Regions from separate parts of the Homo sapiens genome. Here regions 1, 2 and 3 are each linked to region 4. The links are contacts of gene promoters, found by promoter capture Hi-C in blood cells and fetal thymus (Javierre and others, 2016). All regions are on one chromosome and are shown on one strand. Each heading gives the region's core, a stretch centred on a gene start or on the middle of the fragment in contact. The rest is flanking DNA. Distances are from core to core; before and after follow the strand shown.

The links. Contacts are between HindIII fragments. The CHiCAGO score rates a contact against its expected background, and 5 or more counts as called.
Region 1: a fragment that was not itself captured here is called in contact with the fragment with the promoter of GBP7 in region 4 in 1 of 17 cell types (activated CD4 T cells); the score reaches 5.2 in activated CD4 T cells.
Region 2: a fragment that was not itself captured here is called in contact with the fragment with the promoter of GBP7 in region 4 in 1 of 17 cell types (activated CD4 T cells); the score reaches 5.2 in activated CD4 T cells.
Region 3: a fragment that was not itself captured here is called in contact with the fragment with the promoter of GBP7 in region 4 in 1 of 17 cell types (activated CD4 T cells); the score reaches 6.0 in activated CD4 T cells.

The regions. Positions count from the first base shown.
Region 1 is chr1:89,295,965-89,300,755 of GRCh38, forward strand. It overlaps the pseudogene LOC100421401. Among named protein-coding and RNA genes, the nearest start is that of GBP5, 26 kb to the left of the region's middle. The HindIII fragment of the contact is 2,634 bases long and covers 1-2,633 here.
Region 2 is chr1:89,054,419-89,059,588 of GRCh38, forward strand. GBP1 (guanylate binding protein 1) reads right to left here. Exons shown (of 11, transcript NM_002053.3): 4 at 4,899-5,008; 5 at 4,423-4,625; 6 at 3,574-3,816; 7 at 2,436-2,716; 8 at 1,598-1,810; 9 at 695-797; 10 at 264-457. All of the region lies in intron 2 of LOC105378841 (a long non-coding RNA gene), which reads left to right. Among named protein-coding and RNA genes, the nearest start is that of GBP1, 8.2 kb to the right of the region's middle. RefSeq lists an enhancer at 1,725-2,924. The HindIII fragment of the contact is 1,315 bases long and covers 1,526-2,840 here.
Region 3 is chr1:89,254,001-89,259,042 of GRCh38, forward strand. It overlaps GBP5 (guanylate binding protein 5), which reads right to left. Exons shown (of 12, transcript NM_052942.5): 12 at 2,189-5,042. It also overlaps the pseudogene LOC100421401. Among named protein-coding and RNA genes, the nearest start is that of GBP5, 16 kb to the right of the region's middle. The HindIII fragment of the contact is 3,209 bases long and covers 623-3,831 here.
Region 4 is chr1:89,172,911-89,177,359 of GRCh38, forward strand. It overlaps GBP7 (guanylate binding protein 7), which reads right to left and starts at 3,093. Exons shown (of 11, transcript NM_207398.3): 1 at 3,011-3,093. The region is part of intron 3 of LOC105378842 (a long non-coding RNA gene); the gene reads left to right. The HindIII fragment of the contact is 1,918 bases long and covers 1,547-3,464 here.

The DNA.
Region 1 (4,791 bases), core at 67-2,566, 120 kb after region 4:
GCTTCAGAGTCTTCTGATCCTGCTCTCTCAGTAGGTTTTCCTTTTCTTTCACTCCTTTCTCAGTTGGGCTTTGATTTCCACAAAGCTCCTCTCTTGAGCCTCCAAGTTTTGCTGCTGTTCTTTACACCTTTGCTTGAGAAGCATTTTTTTCCTTTTCAGGTGATTTTTTTTTTTTTTTTTTGGCTCGCTTTGCTGATCCGTGAAGGTTTTTGAGAGGGAAGAAAAAGAACAGTCAGACGTGAGTGCCATACATCCCTTCTCAGATATCAAACTGCTGTTGAAAAGGCAGATGGGAAATATTTGAATTCATCCAGTGGCCATACAATAAGAGCAAACTTCAGAATGTGATGGGCAAGACACAGCTGTCTGGCTGACGCTCTACCACAACTCTGTTGTTATTTTCACATTTAGGAAGCTCCTTGTTTCAGAAAATCCTCCCATCAGATCTCTCAAACAGCCCTGCAGGAAACTACCCACCCTGATGGAAGCTGAGACCTGCCCCTGTACCTTGCAAGGCCTTGGATTTCCACAGGTTGGATTCTATCCACATCTGCTACAACCACAGCAAGCGCTGGAGAGCTCAATTATTTTGAGGAACCAAGAAAAGGCCAAGACACATCACGCAGGTCAAACTTAAACTTCCAATGAAATACTCTGAGGAGAAATTCTGTTCCAATTAATGTTTCCTTATTCTTTGCCTGCCCACACAAGTTTTCAAGATCTTGCTTGTATTGCTCCCCCTCCAACCTCCCCTGCCAATGTTGCTTCTCCCCATCAATGCTAGGTTCCACCACTTAGAAAAATGCGTACCTTTATAAATGCATAACTTCTGGTGCTTTCATATTTTCACATGTTTTTTTCTGCCTATGGGTCTTCTCTTTAGAAGTTAAAGAGGCAGAAAAACATCTGCAGCTAGATTAGCTGTCAGTTCCCTGCATTTCTGAGTGTGCATATCTGCTAAATCTAGGTCAGGATCTCCGTATGGTGGTAGGGTTCCCGTTTTTAGGAAACATACTACCACACAAAGATAACCTTAAAATAACCAATTGCTGCTTATATTTAACCCTAGTTACAATATCTACATGGTAAACCTGGGAATCCCATTTAATATGGCTCCATGAGATAATCTGGAATAATTCAAAGTAGCAGCACAAACCCTGGGAAAGAAAAAGCATCTAAACTTGGAGAGCATGAACACATTCTTCAAAATTTACATCACACTCCTCTTTCAGGAAGTTTTCCTAGCCTGCCTTCCCTTCAAGAATTGAATGTGCACTTTAAATAGGTAAAATATATAGTGTGTAAATTAGATTTCAACCAAGTCATTAAAATAAAGCAAAATCTAACAAAAATAAATTCGAATCACTCCCAACTTGGAAAAGTGCTCTCTATAAGACTATTGATATGTTTCTTACTTCCTTGGGCCTCCCTGTGTAATGTTGATTTTACAGCACATAATCTCTATGGTATCTTGCTGCTGGAACATCCTGGGAATCCACCTACAGGATAAATAACAGTGGTGTTATGGTCCGAAGGTTAGTGTCCCCTAAAATTTATATGTTAGGACCAAATATTCAATGTGATAGTATTAAGAGGCAGGGCTTTTAGAAAGTGATTTGAATGGGATTAATGCACTTATAAAAGAGGTTGAAAGGAGTGACCCTTCTCCTTCCATCATGTGCAGATACAGCAACAAGGCACCATCTTTGAAGCCAAGAGCAGCTCTCACCAGCCACCAAATCTGCCAGCACTCTGTCTTGGATGGCCCAGCCTCTAGAACTGTAAGAAACAAATTTCTGTTTACAATTTACCTGGTCTAAGGTATTTTGTTATAGCAGCCAGAATGGACTAAGACAAGTGATATAACTAAAAGCAAAATAAATATAAAGAAAGACTAGGCCAGGTGCAGTGGCTCACACCTGTAATCCCAGCACTTTGGGAGACTCAGGTGGGTGGATCATTTGAGGTCAGGAGTTCGAGTCCAGCCTGGTCAACATGGTGAAACCCCACCTCTACTGAAAATACAAAAATTAGCTGGGCGTGGTTGTGGGCACCTGTAGTCTCAGCTACTTGGTAGGCTGAGGCAGGAGAATTGCTTGAACCCGGGGGGTGGAGGTTGCAGTGAGCTGAGATCACACCACTGCACTCCAGCCTGGGTGACAGAGTGAGACTCTGTCTCAAAAAAAAAAAAAAATGACTTGGTAAGAAAATCTTCCCAGAGAAACTTGGGTTGCTATGAATGGAAAAGAGTCCACAGAAAACATGACAAATTCAAAATAACTAAAATTACAAGCACATAAGGTGACTTTTCAAGTATTCACTAAAGGAGGATATAAGAAGGTCAGTCCTGAATTTGCTTCAGAAGTCAGACAGATTTCCAGATAAAAATTATCTGGAATTTATAGAGAACTGTGTTACTCTATTTTATCTCCAAGTTTGGAGGAGAAAGAGATAAAATAGAGTAATACAGTTCTCTATAAATTCCTTACTCAGAAGAATCTCCTATGAATGATAGGTAATCTTATTGCCTATAAAGTGGCCACTAGCTATTATTCTAAAATTAAGGTAACAGAGCCAACTACTAAGACAAAGTATCATGAAATGCTTGTCATACTAGAAGGATGCTATATGAAAGCTTTGAAATGAGCCAGGTAAGGCATCTGCAGGACTTGTCTGTGAGAACATCACTCTGTAGGGCCAGTGTGTTCTCACTCTGAGTCAGAGGTGTTTCTGCATTTTCCAAATAATGAAACCATTCCACTGTTGATGATATTCACATAAGTCACTACCAGAATCCCCAGCCCTGAAAGAGGCAGGAAATTTGGGACATCAATGGGATTCAAATATTGGGACTACAGTTCTAAAATCACAAGCAAACTCTACACAGTGTGAATACCGTCATAAGTCCTATCTTTTCTTACTAAATTCACCTTTATCTTCCTATTCACTCTTGTGTGTTTCTCAGGTCACTGTATTTAAACAATTAATTATTTTTTTCTTTAGTTAATATGCTTGAGATATCCTGGAAAAACAATTTCCTGGTGAAGCATATTACAAACAAACTAGACTAGAGAGGTGAATACGTAGGCAGGGTAAATTAGATTATTTGTCCTGTTAAAATTCCACTTATGAATTATTCGAAATTTAGTTTGAATTAAGATATATCCATATCCATATTTCACATTCTTAGTGAAGAGGGCACTTATCATATCCAACATCTCTTCTTGGAAATTATGGTAGCCTTCATGTTATGTTTACATAATCTTGCTATAAAAATAGAGATATAGAGAACCATTTAAATATATTGAGAGTCAAGTATTTGCTTGTAGACCCATGGAATAATTGTACTGTTAACACTCAACTGTATGAAATGAAACTTTTATTTTGAATGTAAATGGAGAGCTCCATATGTATAGAACACATATGACCGGGCACAGTGGCTCACACCTGTAATCCCAGCACTTTAGGAGGCCGAGGCGAGTGGATTGCCTGAGCCCAGGAGTTCGAGACCAGCGTGGGCAACATGGCAAAACAAAGTCTCTACTAAAAATATAAAAATTAGCCAGGCTTGGTGGCGCATGCCTGTAATCCCAGCTACTCAGTAGGCTGAGGCAGGAGAATCACTTGAATCCGGGAGACAGAGGCTGCAGTGAGCTGACAATAGAGTGGAAAAAAAAAAAAGAAAGGAAGAAAACCACATATATGGCAGAATATCACCACGGGTGAATTTTAATTTATTAATTTATTTTATTTCACTTTTAGTTGTATGACTTGTCTTAGTCTATTCTGACTGCTCCAACAAAATACCTTAGAGTGGATAAATTATAAACAATGAGTGTACTTGCTCCACAGCACTGCAGGTGACTGTGCTCAGTACTAACTAGTTCTCCGTAGCTGCCAACTCACCCTTGCTCTGTTTCCTCCCTCTAAGGTTTTGCTTCTAATTTATAAACACTGAAAACAAACTAAGAATGTTAATCATTCCCAGAAAGGAAATGGAGTGAAAACTGAAGCTGAAAGTAAAATTAGCTCGTGGGGTTTTTAAATATTTAGAAAAGGCATGCTGAGTTAATATCTAGAACATGACAAAGTATAGATGCAATGAAGGTTACAAAATTCCAGTAACTATTTACATTAGCAAAGACTTGGAACCAACCTAAATGCCCATCAATGATAGACTGGATAAAGAAAATGTGGCATATATACACCATGGAATACTATGCAGCCATAGAAAGAATGAGATCATGTCCTTTGCAGGGATGTGGATGAAGCTGGAGACCATCATTCTCAGCAAACTAAAACAGGAACAGAAAACCAAACATCACATGTTCTCACTCATAAGTGGGAGTTGAACAGTGAGAATACACGGACACAGGGAGGGGAAAAACACACACTGGCACCTGGCACCTATCAGGGGGTGGGGGACAAGAGGAGGGAGAGCATTAGGACAAATACCTAATGCATGCAGGGCTTAAAACCTACATGACAGGTTGATAGGTGCAGCAAACCACCATGGCACATGTATACCTATGTAACAAACTTGCATATTCTGCACATGTATCCTGGAACTTAAAGTAAAAATATATACATACAAGTATATAGAAAATTCCAGTAACTGCAGTTACAACTTAGTACATGTTGCCTGACTAGCTTTCTTGTTATTACCCCATCTTGCCATTAGCAGATGAGTACGGTGTATTTTAGTGGGAATTTTGCTGTGTTTATATTTTTAGACTTCATATAGATTCCTGAAGGTGTAGATTAATGTTTTTAATCAAATTCTGGGAGTTA
Region 2 (5,170 bases), core at 933-3,432, 120 kb before region 4:
GATGCCTAGCAGATAATAGCTTCCTTGAAATGAAGGATATATTGATAAAGGACTGAATGTTACACAACTGCAAATAAAAAACTTTCAGTGACCAGACTTGGCAGTAGCCAGTCAGGCTGGACAGACAGGAATTGAAAAGTACAAGTAAGCAAGCAGGGTCCTTACCCTGGGCTTCATGTTCTCTCTGCCACACTAAGTTTGCGATCAGGGAGAATGGAGAGAAAACAGAAAAACAGAAACCTCAAGGTGATGCAATTAGATACCTGAAGTTTAAGAGCGAGGGTCCTCTCTTGCTCTTTCAGCAACTGGACCCTGTCGTTCTCCATCTTCTCAGTCAGTTGTTTCAAGTGTTCCTGATAACTCCTCTCCTTCTGTTCCATCATCTGCTCATTCTTTCTTTGCATTTCCTGCAACATTTTTGCTGAAGCCTGTGCAGACTCAGCTTTCACACGTTCCACTGAGGAGGAAAAGGCAGAAGAAAAATTTGTGTGGGGTTATCTTGTTGCCTCATTCTTCCTTATACACTTACCTGTCGTTGTTGCTGACTGCATATGCCCTACTCAGAGATGACCTCGGCAAGTAAGACACACCTTTGTGGATCTTGCTCTAGTTAAAGGGTCCCATGTTTATCCAGTCAAGTTATTTCAATTTTTGGAGCTTTTGAGGCCATCTAATCTCTTAACTCACTCCTCACCTTCAATCTCCTTTTCTTTTTCTGTGAGAGTCTGGTCTGTCTGGAGAATTGCATCAGTCATAGACTCCTTGGATTTCAAGTATGTCTGCAGAATCTCTTCAGCCTTAGGACCCAGAGAACACAGAGTGAGAAGTAGGAAATGGCTGTAAGCAGGTGTTCCTGTTTGTCTTCCTGCCATCCTTTCTCCTCTGGGAATTCTTTCTCTTGGCCCTATTGTCCTTGGTGGTCAAATTCCCTGTCGGAGCGACAGACACATGCTCCTGGCAAGCCGATCAGAACATCCTACTTAGCAGTCATTTTTAGTAGGCTAATATAGATACTGGGAAAAGGAGAGTCTCTGTCCTGTTTAGATTAAGGGCTCTAAGTTTGGAACTGTTAATGCTGTGGTCCCATATGGGCTGAGCCTGCTGGGGAATGAAGCCATCATTGAGAAAGCAAATATCAGAGTGACTCAGATAGAGGGATGGTGGGAGGGAGAAAACTGTGGGGATGGGGGAACACTGGACAGAGAGCCAGTTCATGATGTTACTTGAAACCTTAGACCCACCTGACCTGTAAAGCCAGTTTGCAGCCTAAATCAATGAATTACATTTTTGTTTAAGCAGCCATCATTGGGTTCCTGTCTCTTGCAACAGGAAAAGCCCAGCTGTAATGATGACAATAATAACTTTGTGCTTCATCTGCTAATTGAATTTATAACTTAATAGTTAATTGACTGCACTCTCTTTGATGAGCACCTAGGACATATCTGGTATAACAGCCTGTTTGCATATGTTATTGAATAAAAGCATGAATGTTATGCAAACAAAAAAGCACATCTGTATGCAGTGAAGCTTGGTCACCTTGGTGTTTGTAGGAGGCAGGTCAGCAGCTTTCCATAATTGACAGATAAATCTTGGTTACCTGTATCCCCTTCCTCGGTTCCTCATAGTACTTTTTCTTCAGGTCTTGTAGCTTCTGAACAAAGAGACGATAGCCCCCTGGTTTCGAATAAATTCCCGCCTTCACTTCTTCTTCTAGAGGACTGAAAATGACCTGAAGTAAAGCTGAGCAACGATCTGATGATGCTTCCTGATTCTGTTTACAAAAGTCATCCCGCTTTTTTTCTAGCTGGGCCTTTAATGTAAAAATAGGAAGTAAAAAGAGTAACAGGGAAAGGATGTTAGCTTGACCTCAGAATTTTGGGAACGATTTCTGAAAATAGAAGTCAATGATGCTGGAGAAACTGACAGCCTCCTCACCAGGACCACACTCTTCCTTCTGACCCCACTTTCTGCTGAAGTCGCTTTCTTTTTGGAGGTGAGGTTCAGGGCTGAGATTGATAGCTTTATGTCAACTGTTAGAGGAAAACTCTGTTTTTGCATATTGGACTAATGATTTCATATGGAATAAATGTGGCTGAACGGAAGCCTGCTCAAGATAAGTAGGATGAAAATTTTCTTTGTGTTTGGCTAGAATATCAAATCAGTCTGAGAAGAGTGGGCAGGTAATTTTATTAGAAGCTCTGGTTGTCAGTTGTATGCATAAGTAAAGGGAAAATTATTCAGGAAAAAATGTTTTAGAACTTTGGGTCTGTAATAATACAGTTGGTCCTTCTGACTGATGTGATCACAAATCTGTTGTTTTCACCATTATGGAAGCTAGGAGGAATTACTTCCGTCAAAATAAATAATAGTTTTCTTTCCTTGTGGTACTTTAGCTTCTATGACCCTAAACCGTATACATTTGAGACAAAAATTACCGCTAACTCCTTTTGAAATAGATGGTCCACATCTTTGAAGGAACTCCTGATGAAGACTTCAATGGCCTCTCTCTCACTGTCCCTGTGCAGGTCCAGCAGCTCCTGGAGGGTTTCTGTGGGCAGCTGCACCTTCTGGCCCATCTGCTGTTCATAGTGGGCAATAGCCTTTTGCACTGCAGCTGAGTTCTCTATCTGGGCCAAGGCCAGGACTGCGTTCTCCATGCACGGCAGATCCCCACTGCTGATGGCATTGACGTAGGTCAGCACCAGGCTCTCTAGACCTGCATATGAAGAACAAATGATAATGTTTCTGGTGGTAAAGAAAGTCTCTATTCCATGTAATTCTGAGCATGTCAAATACCACCTATTTTCCTCACAGCATCAATGTCCTCAGCATCACTTGGAAGCTTGCTGGAAATAGACTCTCAGACCCTGTCCGAGATCTATTGAATTAGACTTTTGTGTTTGGTAAGATCCTCAGAAGATATGTATGCATACCAACATTTGAGAGTTCTTGTACTAGATTACATAGACTTGTGTTAATTGAATGTTTGCATCCATTTTAACCCCAACCAACATTAGGACAGGAACCATATCTATTTCATTTATATCTGTATCTTCAGTCTATTCATAGTAAGCATTTGATCAATATGTATGAAACAAATGACACTATTCCAATAAAAAAGAGTCATCCATTTAGTTTATTTTATTGCAGTATTGTTCAAAAGCGCTTTCTGTAATGCTGGGAATGTTGTATATGTGCTTTTCAGTGTGCTAGTCACTAAGTACGTGTAAATATTAGTCCTTGAAATACAGGCATGTGAATTGACTTTTAAATTTTCCCTATTTAAATTATTTACATTTATGTTTACATAGACACACTTGTCTAGGGGCTACTCTATTGCATAGTGCAGGTCCAGTTCACTAGGGCAATTTCAAGCAATAGAACTTTTTTCCTTTGGCCTTTTCCTAGACTGGAAATGTGACTAACAATATATGTTAGAAACATTGGTGCCATCTAGAATTTAACACAAATATAGCAGTAGATTGGGATTTTTCAATGCTGAAACTAGGTGGAAGTTATTCTATGCTCCTCTAGTCTTAAACAATGAGCAGAAGTACTAGGAAGGGGACTTACGAGGCCCGTTGACCTGGATGCCTCCTGAAAGAGTTTTAGTTTTGGAATTACTAAAGATGTAGGAACAGAAGTCTGCTACTTGTTGCACAAATTCGGGGTCCAGCTCTTCATCTTGTAGTTTCTCGAGCTGGGCAAGCTTCCTGCGGTGAACGGGCCGATCAAAGACAAAGCATTTTTTCTTTGGGAAGAATTTCCGGATACAGAGTCTGGGCAGGTTAAAAGTTTCATCTTTTTGACTGGTACCTAGAAAAACATTTAAAAAATTATAAAATTGCCTAATATAAGTGTTTCTGTAAAGGGCCAAATAGTAAATATTTTAGGCTCTTCAGGCTGGATGGTCTCTTTTCCAAGTATTCAACTCTGTTATTGAAGCATGACAACAGCTTTAGACAATATGTAAATGAATGGGCATAGCATTATTCCAAAAAAACCTTATTTACAAAGACAGCTGGCAGGCAGGATTTGCCATGATTTGTCTTGGGCTGTAGTTTGCCAATGCTTGGACTAGCACACGGTTCATGTTTTAGTCTATGTTCTTTAAATAAATATCCATTGTACTCCATACTCTATGGCTAAGTAGAAGATCACAAACCCTAGGCAGGGAGATAAAATTAACCTAATCACAGCATACACAAAGGTGAAAGAACAAGAAACTTGTTCTAGAACAATGACAAATGTAATTTAAAATAACATCTATTAATTTGGATATTCAGCAAGTATTAATTTCTAGGAATAGCCAGCTGAAGACATAGAAAACTGCAAATGCTGGAAAACTAGCAATAGTAAACTGAAAAATGATAATTTCTTGTGTTTTCTCATCCTCATTTATCAGTTGAAGCTCTCTGTTACCTTTCTTCAGCTTCAGGGAGTATGTCAGGTACTCATCTGGTGTGAGGGGTTGTCCATCTGCTTCCAAGTCCAGGGAGAAATCTCTCAGTGTCCACACAAAGTCTGGGAAGAAGCTCACAAAGTCAGCTGAATCCTCAACCTCATTCTCATTCTCATCAGGTGAGGATTTTGATCGGATTCTATGTGTCAGCTCTGTCACATAGCTGAGTAGCTAACTAAGGAAATGTGACAAAATGAACAGGGACCTCATCCCATGTTAGTTCAACACATACCCAAACCTTCCATTTTCCTTTGCTCCTAACCTAAGTGTCAGTGTCAGTTCTAAAGTGGATACATGGGATCTCTCCTCTGTACTTGCATTATTTTTTGTTTTCTCCTTTTGAGCTTGATTCATCAGGATTCACAGTCAGGCAGCTGGTGTATGAATACAGGTGTCCCCTCTGACCTTGGTGCTGTTCTGGGTCACAAAAGGATACTACAGTTGGTCCATAGCCTGCTGGTTGATGGTTCCTATGCTATTGTACACGAAGGTGCTGCTCAGGAGGACGGCCAGGGCGAAGATCCAGGAGTCATTCTGGTTGTCACCCTGGAAGTCAAGACACACTGGAGTCAGGAGCAAGTTTCATCATCGCAGCACTTTTCAGAGTAACAGTAGTAAAACTATGTTCATATGTTAGAGGGTTTTTTTTTCTTTTCTTTTTTTTTTTTTTTTTTAACACTAATGACCTATTAAAGGAAGACAAATACA
Region 3 (5,042 bases), core at 977-3,476, 80 kb after region 4:
AGGCTGAGGCAGAAGAATGGCGTGAACCCGGGAGGCGGAGCTTGCAGTGAGCTGAGTTCGCGCCACTGCACTCCAGCCTGGGCGACAGAGAGAGACTCGTCTGAAAAACAAAACAAAACAAAACAAAAACAAAAATAGACACATAGACCAGTGGAACAGAATAGAGAACCCAGAAAGAAATCCACACACCTTTAGTAAACTCATATTCAACAAAGATGTCAAGGACATACACCAAAGAAAAGACAATCTCTTCAATAATTTATGCTGGGAAAACTGGATATCCATATGCAAAAGAATGAAACTAGGCCCCTATCTCTTGACATATACAAAAATCAAATCGAAGTGGATTAAATACTTACATCTAAGACTTCAAACTATAAAACTACTACAAGAAACATTGGGGAAACTCTCCAGGACATTGGTCTGGGCAAAAATTGTTTGGGTAATACCCCTCAAGCACAGGGAACAAAAGCAAAAATGGGTAAATGGGATCATGTCAAGTTAAAAAGGTTCTGCACAGCAAAGGAATCCATAAACGAAGTGAAGACACAACATAGAGAATGCAAGAAGATACTTGCAAACTACCCATCTGACAAAGGATTAATAACTAGAAAATATAAGAAGCTTAAACAACTCTATAGGAAAAAATCTAATTATCCAATCAAAAAATGGGCAAAAGATTTGAATAGACATTTCTCAAAAAAGACATATGAATGGAAAACAGTCATATGAAAAGGTGCTCAACATCATGGATCATCAGAGAAATGCAAATCAAAACTACAATGACATCATCTCACTCCAGTTAAAATGGCTTATGTCCAAAAAACAGTCAGTAACAAATGCTGGCAAGGATGTGCAGGAAAGGAAGTCCTTGTACATTGTTGGTGGGATTGTAAATTCGTACAACCACTAAGGAGAACACTTTGGGGTTCTCAGAAAACTTAAAAATTAAGCTACTATATGATCCAGCAATCCCACTGCTGGGTATATACCCAAAAGAAAGAAATCAATATACCGAAGAGATATTCCCACTCCCATGTTTGTTGCATTGCTTTTCACAATAGCCAAGATTTGGAAGCAAGCCAAGTATCCATCGACACATGAATGCATAAAGAAAATGTGGTACTTTTACACAATGGAGTTCTATTCAGCCATAAAAATAATGAGATCCTGTCATCCGCAACAACTTGGATGGAACTGGAGATCATTATGTTAAGTGAAATAAGCCAAGCATATTAAAACAAACATTGCATGTTCTCACTTATTTGCAGGATCTAAAAATCAAACCAATTGAATTCATAACTGTAGAGAGTAGAGGATCTCTACCAGAGTCTGGGAAGTGTAGTGGGGCAGGGTGATAGGGGTGAGGTGAGGATGTTTAACGAGTACAAAAAATATAGTTAGAAAGAATGAATGAGACCTAATATTTAATAGCACAAAGGGAAGATTATAGTCAATAATAATTTAATTGTACTTCTTAAAATTACTGAAAGTGTATAATTGGATTGTTTGTAATACAAAGAGTAAATGCTTGAGTAGATAGATACCCCTTCTCCATCTGATCATTATGCACTGCATGTCTGTATCAAGGCATCTCATGTACCCCGTAAACATATACTCCTACTATGTACCCACAAAAATTAAAAATAATAAAAATTTAATAAATAAGAAAAGCTGGATATCCATTCTCTAAGACTTCAGTGTTACAGAGGGAATTTTATATATACATGCACAAGTGTATATGTTCGAGAATGTTCCGATCGGGCGCGGTGGCTCATACCTGTAATCCCAGCACTTTGGGGAGCCGAGGTGGGTGGATCACCTGAGGCCAGGAGTTCAAGACCTGCCTGTACAACATGGTGAGACGCTATCTCTACTAAAAATGCAAAAATTAGCCAGGCATAGTGGTGTGTGCCTGTAGTCCCAGCTAGTTGGGAGGCTGAGGCATGAGAATTGCTTGAACCTGGGAGGCAGAAGTTGCCTTGAGCCGAGATCATGCCACTTCACTCCAGCCTGGGTGATAGAGTGAGACTCTGTCTCATAAAAAAAAAAAAACAGAAAAAAAAAAGAATGTCCTTAATAACATTTCATAAGGTAAACCTGAAAATCCAGATATGTATTAATAGTAGAATGAATTGTTATCTTTAAACAGTAGAATATATATAGCTTACAACTACACACAATGAACTAGATGAATCTTATAAAGATTTTATTAACAAATGAAGCAAGGCATAAAAGAATACAAACAATGTAATTCCATTTAAATAAAGTTTGAAAACAGGCCAAACAAAATTACATTACTTAGGAGCTCACATGTTTATAATAAAATCCTAGAAAATAGTTGTGAAAGTTGTGATATTAGTTGGCTCTAGCAGGGTTGTCAGAAGTTGTCATATACACCTATAGAATTTTAGTAATGCTGAATGTATGTACCTGGGTTGTTACTTGTGCGTTCATCTTGTAATTTATTTATATTGAATATTGTACATTTTATGTTTTTTGTACTCTTCAGTATGTGTCACATTTAATAATTTTGAAAAACAGAGAATGGGATGTAACTAACTAAAATATTGCTTTGAAAGGGAACAAAGATTGTGTTGAAACTGACTGAGACATGGGGTCAAGAGAGATTTCAAGAGTTTTGAGTCACATTTAGAAAGGCCCTCTCCTCTACAGGTTTATGAAGAACATAACCTTGATTTCTTCAAATGCATTTTCATAGTTTTACATTTTATATTTTATCAATTTGGGTGTGGTTCCTTTTTCTTATTTTAGTGTATTGTGTGTGAGGTCTGGTTACAACTTGATCTTTTCCTATATGGCCATCCAGTAGTCCCAACCTACTAAGAAGTCTATCTTTACCCTGTATTATTCCTATAAAGTCTATTTTTTGGACTTTCTATTCTGTTGGTGATCGTTATACACTAGAGTCATTACCACATTTTCTCTACTTCATTTTAGAAATTTCTTTACCTGCTTATTTTGTGCTGAATTCTTATACATTGTTTTGAATCTATGCTTTTGATTTCAATTATTTTAGTAATTCCTTCTAAATTTTAACACATTATTCAGTATTTCTATGTTTTCCTAAGTATATTAGTCCATTTTCATACTGCTATGAAGAAATACTCAAGACTGGGTAATTTATAAAGGAAAAGAGATGTAATGGACTTGTAGTTTCACATGGGTGGGGAGGCCTCACAACCACAGCAGAAGATGAAAGAGGAACAAAGGCACATCTTACATGGTGTCAGGCAAGAGAGCATGTGCAGGGGAATTGCCCTTTATGAAGCCATCAGATCTCAGGCGACTTATTCACTATCATGAAAAAAGCACATGAAAACCCACCCCCATGATTTGATTACCTCCCACCTGGTCCCTCCCACAACACGTGGGCATTATGGGAGCCATAATTCAAGATGAGATTTGAGTGGACACAGCCAAACCGTATCACTAAGCAAGATAAGAAAGTACCACAAGATGGTTATTAATGTGGGTTCTAAATTCAAAAGGCCTTCTGTGGTACTGACCTTAATTTATTTAATTTCAATGCTTTAACAATAATAACTTTAATAATGATAACACTAACATACATTGATAATATTGTTTAAAATAACAATTGCCATAAAACAATACTAAATGTTTATAAGGTTTTTATGAGCAACAGGTGAATTACTACAGTGACCATAATAAAGTGATCCATAATAAATTCCAAATATCTCTTAGCTGGTATGAATAACTATTCATAGTATTAACTAATAAAGATTTTGTACTTGTTTCCTATTGCTGCTATAACAAATTATTACTAATTTTGTGGCTTAAAACAACAGAAGCTTATTATCTTACAGTTTTGGAAATCAGAAGTCTGTGAAGCTTAAATCAAGATGTTAACAAGGCTGCATTCCATCTGCAGGCTCTAGGGGAGAATCTATTGCTTTGCTTTTCATTACATTTAAAACTAGATCAGTTGATTTCACAACAGTAAGACAAAGAAAGTCAGAAAATATAAGCTACTTACTGGTAGTTTCAAGAAATCATCAATGTTTACCTTACAGTGCCTTTTCTTGTTCTTTTGCACCCAGTGACAGATCTCTAACCTGTGAGATCAGAGTATTTGGGGATGAGTGGGATCCAGGGAAGCTGGTGGGGAAGAATATCTGTGGATCACTAATGAAAGCAGCATGCCTCTCTGGTTTTTGGTGGGGGAGATATAATAGCAAAAGTTAAATTAGACTAGAAATCAACTACTTTGTAACATGGTCTAGGTTAACAGTAACAAGGTGTGAAACCTTAAATGACTTAATTTTCTGAGTCTCAGGATTTTAAAAAATTTCTTTAAGATGGGTAATAAAGATATCAATATTTAATTTGGAGATAGAGCTATTCTTTTTACTGATAACATTTCCTTGGATGATAAAATGTATTTTTTTCTTTATAAATTGCACAGCTTGAAAAGGTAATTGTAGGGTATTGCTAGACAAATGCTCAGTTGAATATGCTGGTACCTTCTGAACTTCAGTTCAAATCTAGAAATACTGCTGAGTAGCACCACATCCTATCTGATATGAAAAATTCCTCATATTAAAGCTCTTCAAAGAACAGTAAAAAGAGCAGACACTAAAATTTTTCGGCTTTTTTCTGTATATAAGTAAATCATATTTTGGGTGACTAAAAAAATTCAAGCTCCTATCATATTACCTAAGTGGAAAATTCCTTATATGAGTAAGTACTTATAAGGGAGAAAAACAGAGCTTTGTGTAATGTTTCTATAATTTAAACAAAAAAAATTTTACTGGAGATATACAAAACAAAGTAACAAAAAGTACATAAAAAGATGTAATAAAGTGTGTTTTAATTCTAGTCTTAAAGCAATTCTTAATCTCCTTAGGGAAATTCAGTCTTTCTCTATAGACTTTTAACTTTGAGAAAAATACAAACAAAGGAACTGATTTATGGTTTTCCAAAAATGTTTTTATGGTTAAAATCTGTACAAACAGATATATTTATATAAGTTACATATTTTAAGAAAAATCAGTCATTTT
Region 4 (4,449 bases), core at 1,843-4,342:
TGCTCATTTAATCATTTACTTGTATCAATGCAGACTCAGAGATATTAGTTTTATTCTGAGGGTTTCAATACTTTACTGTCAATATTTGTTCTGTTACTCAACTTGTCCTAGATTTTGTCATTGAGAGCTTCTTCAAGCTGGATCCATTTTTTTTTTACATGCTTCCATCATATTTTCAGCGCTTCTTTCCTTTTTGGCTCCACAACGTATTCTAGAAAAAATATCTGTATTTTTCCTGCTTTATCCCTAGAATCTAACATTTCTCCCAGTATCTTTGGTTTCTTTCAATGGATAATGGTACTTTGACACCAATATATCACTCTAGGTGTGTTCATTATTTCTAGACCCACTCAGGGGCAAAGTTAAGAAATATATGTATGTATACTAGGACACATCTATATTTATTTTTATCTGTACATTTCTATAATAAAGCTTGAGATTCTGTTGATATTTCCAGTTCCAATCCAACACATCTGAGCTTATTCAAGCTTTTGACTTTCCTTTTTAAACTATTTTCTCCAAGTAAGCTAGACTTTGGTCTTCTAACACATAATACATTTGTTTCCTTGCTCAGTCCTAGTATATTCATATAGTAGTTTCAAAATTGATAATAAGTCTGTGGAAAAATAAATTTACTTCCTATAGAAAATTATTAGTGTACAGTTCTTTTGGTCTTTAGCCTTATATACACACTCAAAACATTGCATTCCAAAGTTGCTTAGGTTAGCTTTTTCCTTCTCCACCTTCTTCAGTATGGTTAAATTATTCATTTGTAAAACAGTTAGTTACATTTGTTACTGTTTGTGTTTCAGTTTGGCCTCCTTCACATCTTGGTATCTTGGTTGATTTTAAGTATGATTTATTTTTTGAGTTTGTGAAACATCATGGTTCTGAAATGCAGAGCTTTTCAAAAAGTTACAGTCAGAGAAGTGTCACTTTTCCTTCATCTTACCACTCCACTCACATTGCAGTGGTCTTCTATTCTTTCTACCACATTCCCACCCATCCTCCATAGATACCCAATCTTGTTAGTTTCTGGTTTACGCTTCTTGGATTTTCTTTTCTCAAATGAGAATGTACATATTTTCTTTTTCACATTTTCTAACACGAAGATCACATCATATAGAAATTTGGAAATCCCTCCACATCTGTTCATAGAAAGCTTTTAAAATCCTTTTAACATGTATCTACTCCTTTATGTGGATTATACCCCAGTTTATTCAATCACTCTTCAATGTATGGGCATTTAGATTGTTTCAAATATTTTGCAATTACAAACAATGCTGCAATGAATAACTCTGCTAACGTTATGCATGTGTATTTTTATATTGTTACAGGAGTAATTTCAGGATAGAGTCCTACCAACGGGATTGCTTGGTCAAAAGATGAGAGTATATAATTTTGTAGATATTGCCAAGTTCCTCTCCAGAAAGTTGTACAAGGTTGCATTCCCACCAGCTCATCTTGTATGTCATTTTCTAGAAAATGGAATTTTTCCTAGGTGCCCCGCTTGCTCTTCTGAATTAATTACAAAATTTCCTTTGGAAGCTTTTCACGTTCACATTTAGATCTTTGGACTGAGCAAAGCTGAGCTCGCTGAGCTCATGTATATAGTAGTAGTAATCTTCACCTGGGAAACATTGTGTTATACATATCTCTATACTTTGAAACATAGATACCATTCTAACCCATTCTTGGTCCTGATTTCTTGCAAGCCCCTCTGTGGGCAGGGTCTGGTCAGACTGTGGGACTCAGGTTACCCAATGGCTTCCTCCTCTCACTGTGCATCAGCATTCACACGTTATTCATGCAAGCCTGATAGCTCGCACCTGACACTTACTCTGTTGATTTTTGACTTGATTATGTTAACAGATTTTGAATTCTCTGCATTTGAAGATTGATTCTTTATTACCTCCATGTATATCAGTCTGCATATTGTTTTTAATTATTTCATGTAATGAAGTCACAGCATGAAACATTCTTTGAAAAACCATGGCTTGTTTTTTGTCTGATCTCTGCTGTATAGAGAGTAGCATATGCACAATTGTAATCATGCTATCTTTATCCAGGGCTTGATAAATTAAATATTTTGATAATTTTGTAAAGTTAAAAGGAGTGAAAAGCCTTCTTGTAGTGATGCTTTAATTTTGTGTTTTTAAGTTGAATGTCTCAATCCTTGTAACTTATGTGATCATGATACAAAATATATAATCTCTTTAAGATACAAGCAAATATAGATGATAGATACTGCAGTTTTCTTTTTTATCCTATAATAAAGAGTGGTTTGTTTCCACTATAGAGTTGGTTACTTCTGACTTGTTCCTCTGGAGGTTTATATTAAATTATCTGGCTTCCCATCACTTCAGCAGAAGATGGAAAAAAAGCCGTTTATTTTTCTGTGATCATGACCCATTTCCTCTTATAGCAATGGCCTACAGGATCTGCTGGCAAGCAAGAAGGGCAAACCAGAAACTAAAAAGATTGGGTATCTATGGAAGATGAGTGAAAACAGAGTATGCGTCTGTCCAATTCTGTAGCATATACTATGCTACCATAACATAGGAATCAATCAGTCACCGGCTCAGAAAGGTGGTGGCACAAAGATGTTATAAGGTCCTGGATTATAATAATGTGTTGCCTCTTTTTGCAGATCCCAAGTTGCCTACCTTCATTTACCTAGAGCTATAAATGTTGGGCCCAATAAAGAAAGTGACAGAGCCTATTAGGCAGATATTTAAAGATAACAGTAATTTAAGATGGTGTCAGAAAAGAAATAACAATCTTAGAACACTGGCTTCTCTGAATATCTGTTCCACCTCTGCTGAAGCCTAATCTGACACAGCAGGAATTAGAGCACACTAAGGTACACACAGCCACCTAAGAGGCCAGGATTTCATCTGGACTTGTATCCTGTAGCTGGCTCAGCTGCAGCCTATCTTGGGGATGGTCAACTTAGAGAAAACTAATGGATCCTTATAAATCATGAAATCCTTATAAGTCATAGTCTTACCCAGAGTAGAGATCCTCTGGACTTGGTAAGAAGGCAGCTTCAATGAGAAAGTTATGAGTCTTTATTCTCTTCTCTTTAGTTCTGAATTTGGCTGCACTGATTTCTCCCACTTTTTTTCTTGCTGGAACTTTGGACTTTTACCTTACCTCTCCAATGTCATGGGGCTTTCCAGACTTTCTAGAGACCTGTATTTATACATGTAAAAAACAATGCAACCTCTGCAAATAAATAGAGTAATATGACAGTCCATGATTTAGCAACAATAAAAGAAATTGCTGACAGCTGTGCTAGTGAGAGGATTTGACATAATTTCTCAAACAGAATCTTCCAATTTTATTATTGGAAGAGATCTTAGAGACAGCTTGCGATTATTAAAAAAACTTCAATGAATCGTTTAAAATAATGACATTCATCTCATGTTTGTGGGCCACATTGAGAAGTACAGGAATAAGAAAGCTTAATATAATATTATTTAGGTTCAATTGGCTTGAATATTAGACTCTTAAAATGGAACTCATTATTTGTGTTTAATAATGAGGACTCTAAATGCCCTGAAGGAATGTCCACGTCTTATACATGTTTGAATTATTAGCACCTAACTCAGGTCTTGGCACTTAACATTTAATAAATAATAATGAAGATAGTACCCGTTTTGTTTACATAGATTATCCCATTGTATTCTTATCACAAATACTTTTACCACAATGTTAAAAGAGGGATTTAATAATTTATTACAATTACAGAGCTACTAAATAAGATTTGGGCCCAAGAAGTCTTGCTGTCAGTCACTTCATTAAAATACCTCTGTGTTTGCTGAGTGTACAATAACAATGTTTTCTCCTTATCAGTTCCATTCTAGGCCATATTCTTTACACATACCATTTTAAATATCAAAATACCTCAAGATAAAGGTTGTTTATTATCCCCATTGTCCAAGGGGGAAAAATAATCAGAAAACGGGTAATTAATATGTCTAACTAAAGCCATTGAGCTACACACCAAGGTAGCAAGTAATTGAGCGAGATTCAAACTTGAAAATCCATTTGGTTAAAACCACATTGATTCTCTACTGCACATTGTCTCTAAAAGAGAGGAAGGTGGGAAGCGGGGAAGAGAGAGAGAGAAATGGAGAGCAGAGAGTAAGACTTCTCTGTGTGTGTGTGAATATTGATGAGATTTAAAGTGAAAGTAAGGCAGGGTTATTTCAAAACAGAACTATTGCTAGGAAATCACCTGCTTCTAAGTAATAAAATCTATTGTTTATATCATGCAAACAAAAAATAGCCCCAGGCAAAATTGAATCTTTGTGAATCATGTATAATTTAAGGGTACATAAATTTATAAGAAAAAAAGATCCCACTTTCCCAACTTGTGTTTTTTTTTTTTGAGACAGAGTTTCTCTCTTGTTGCCCAGGCTGGAGTGCAATGGTACAATCTTC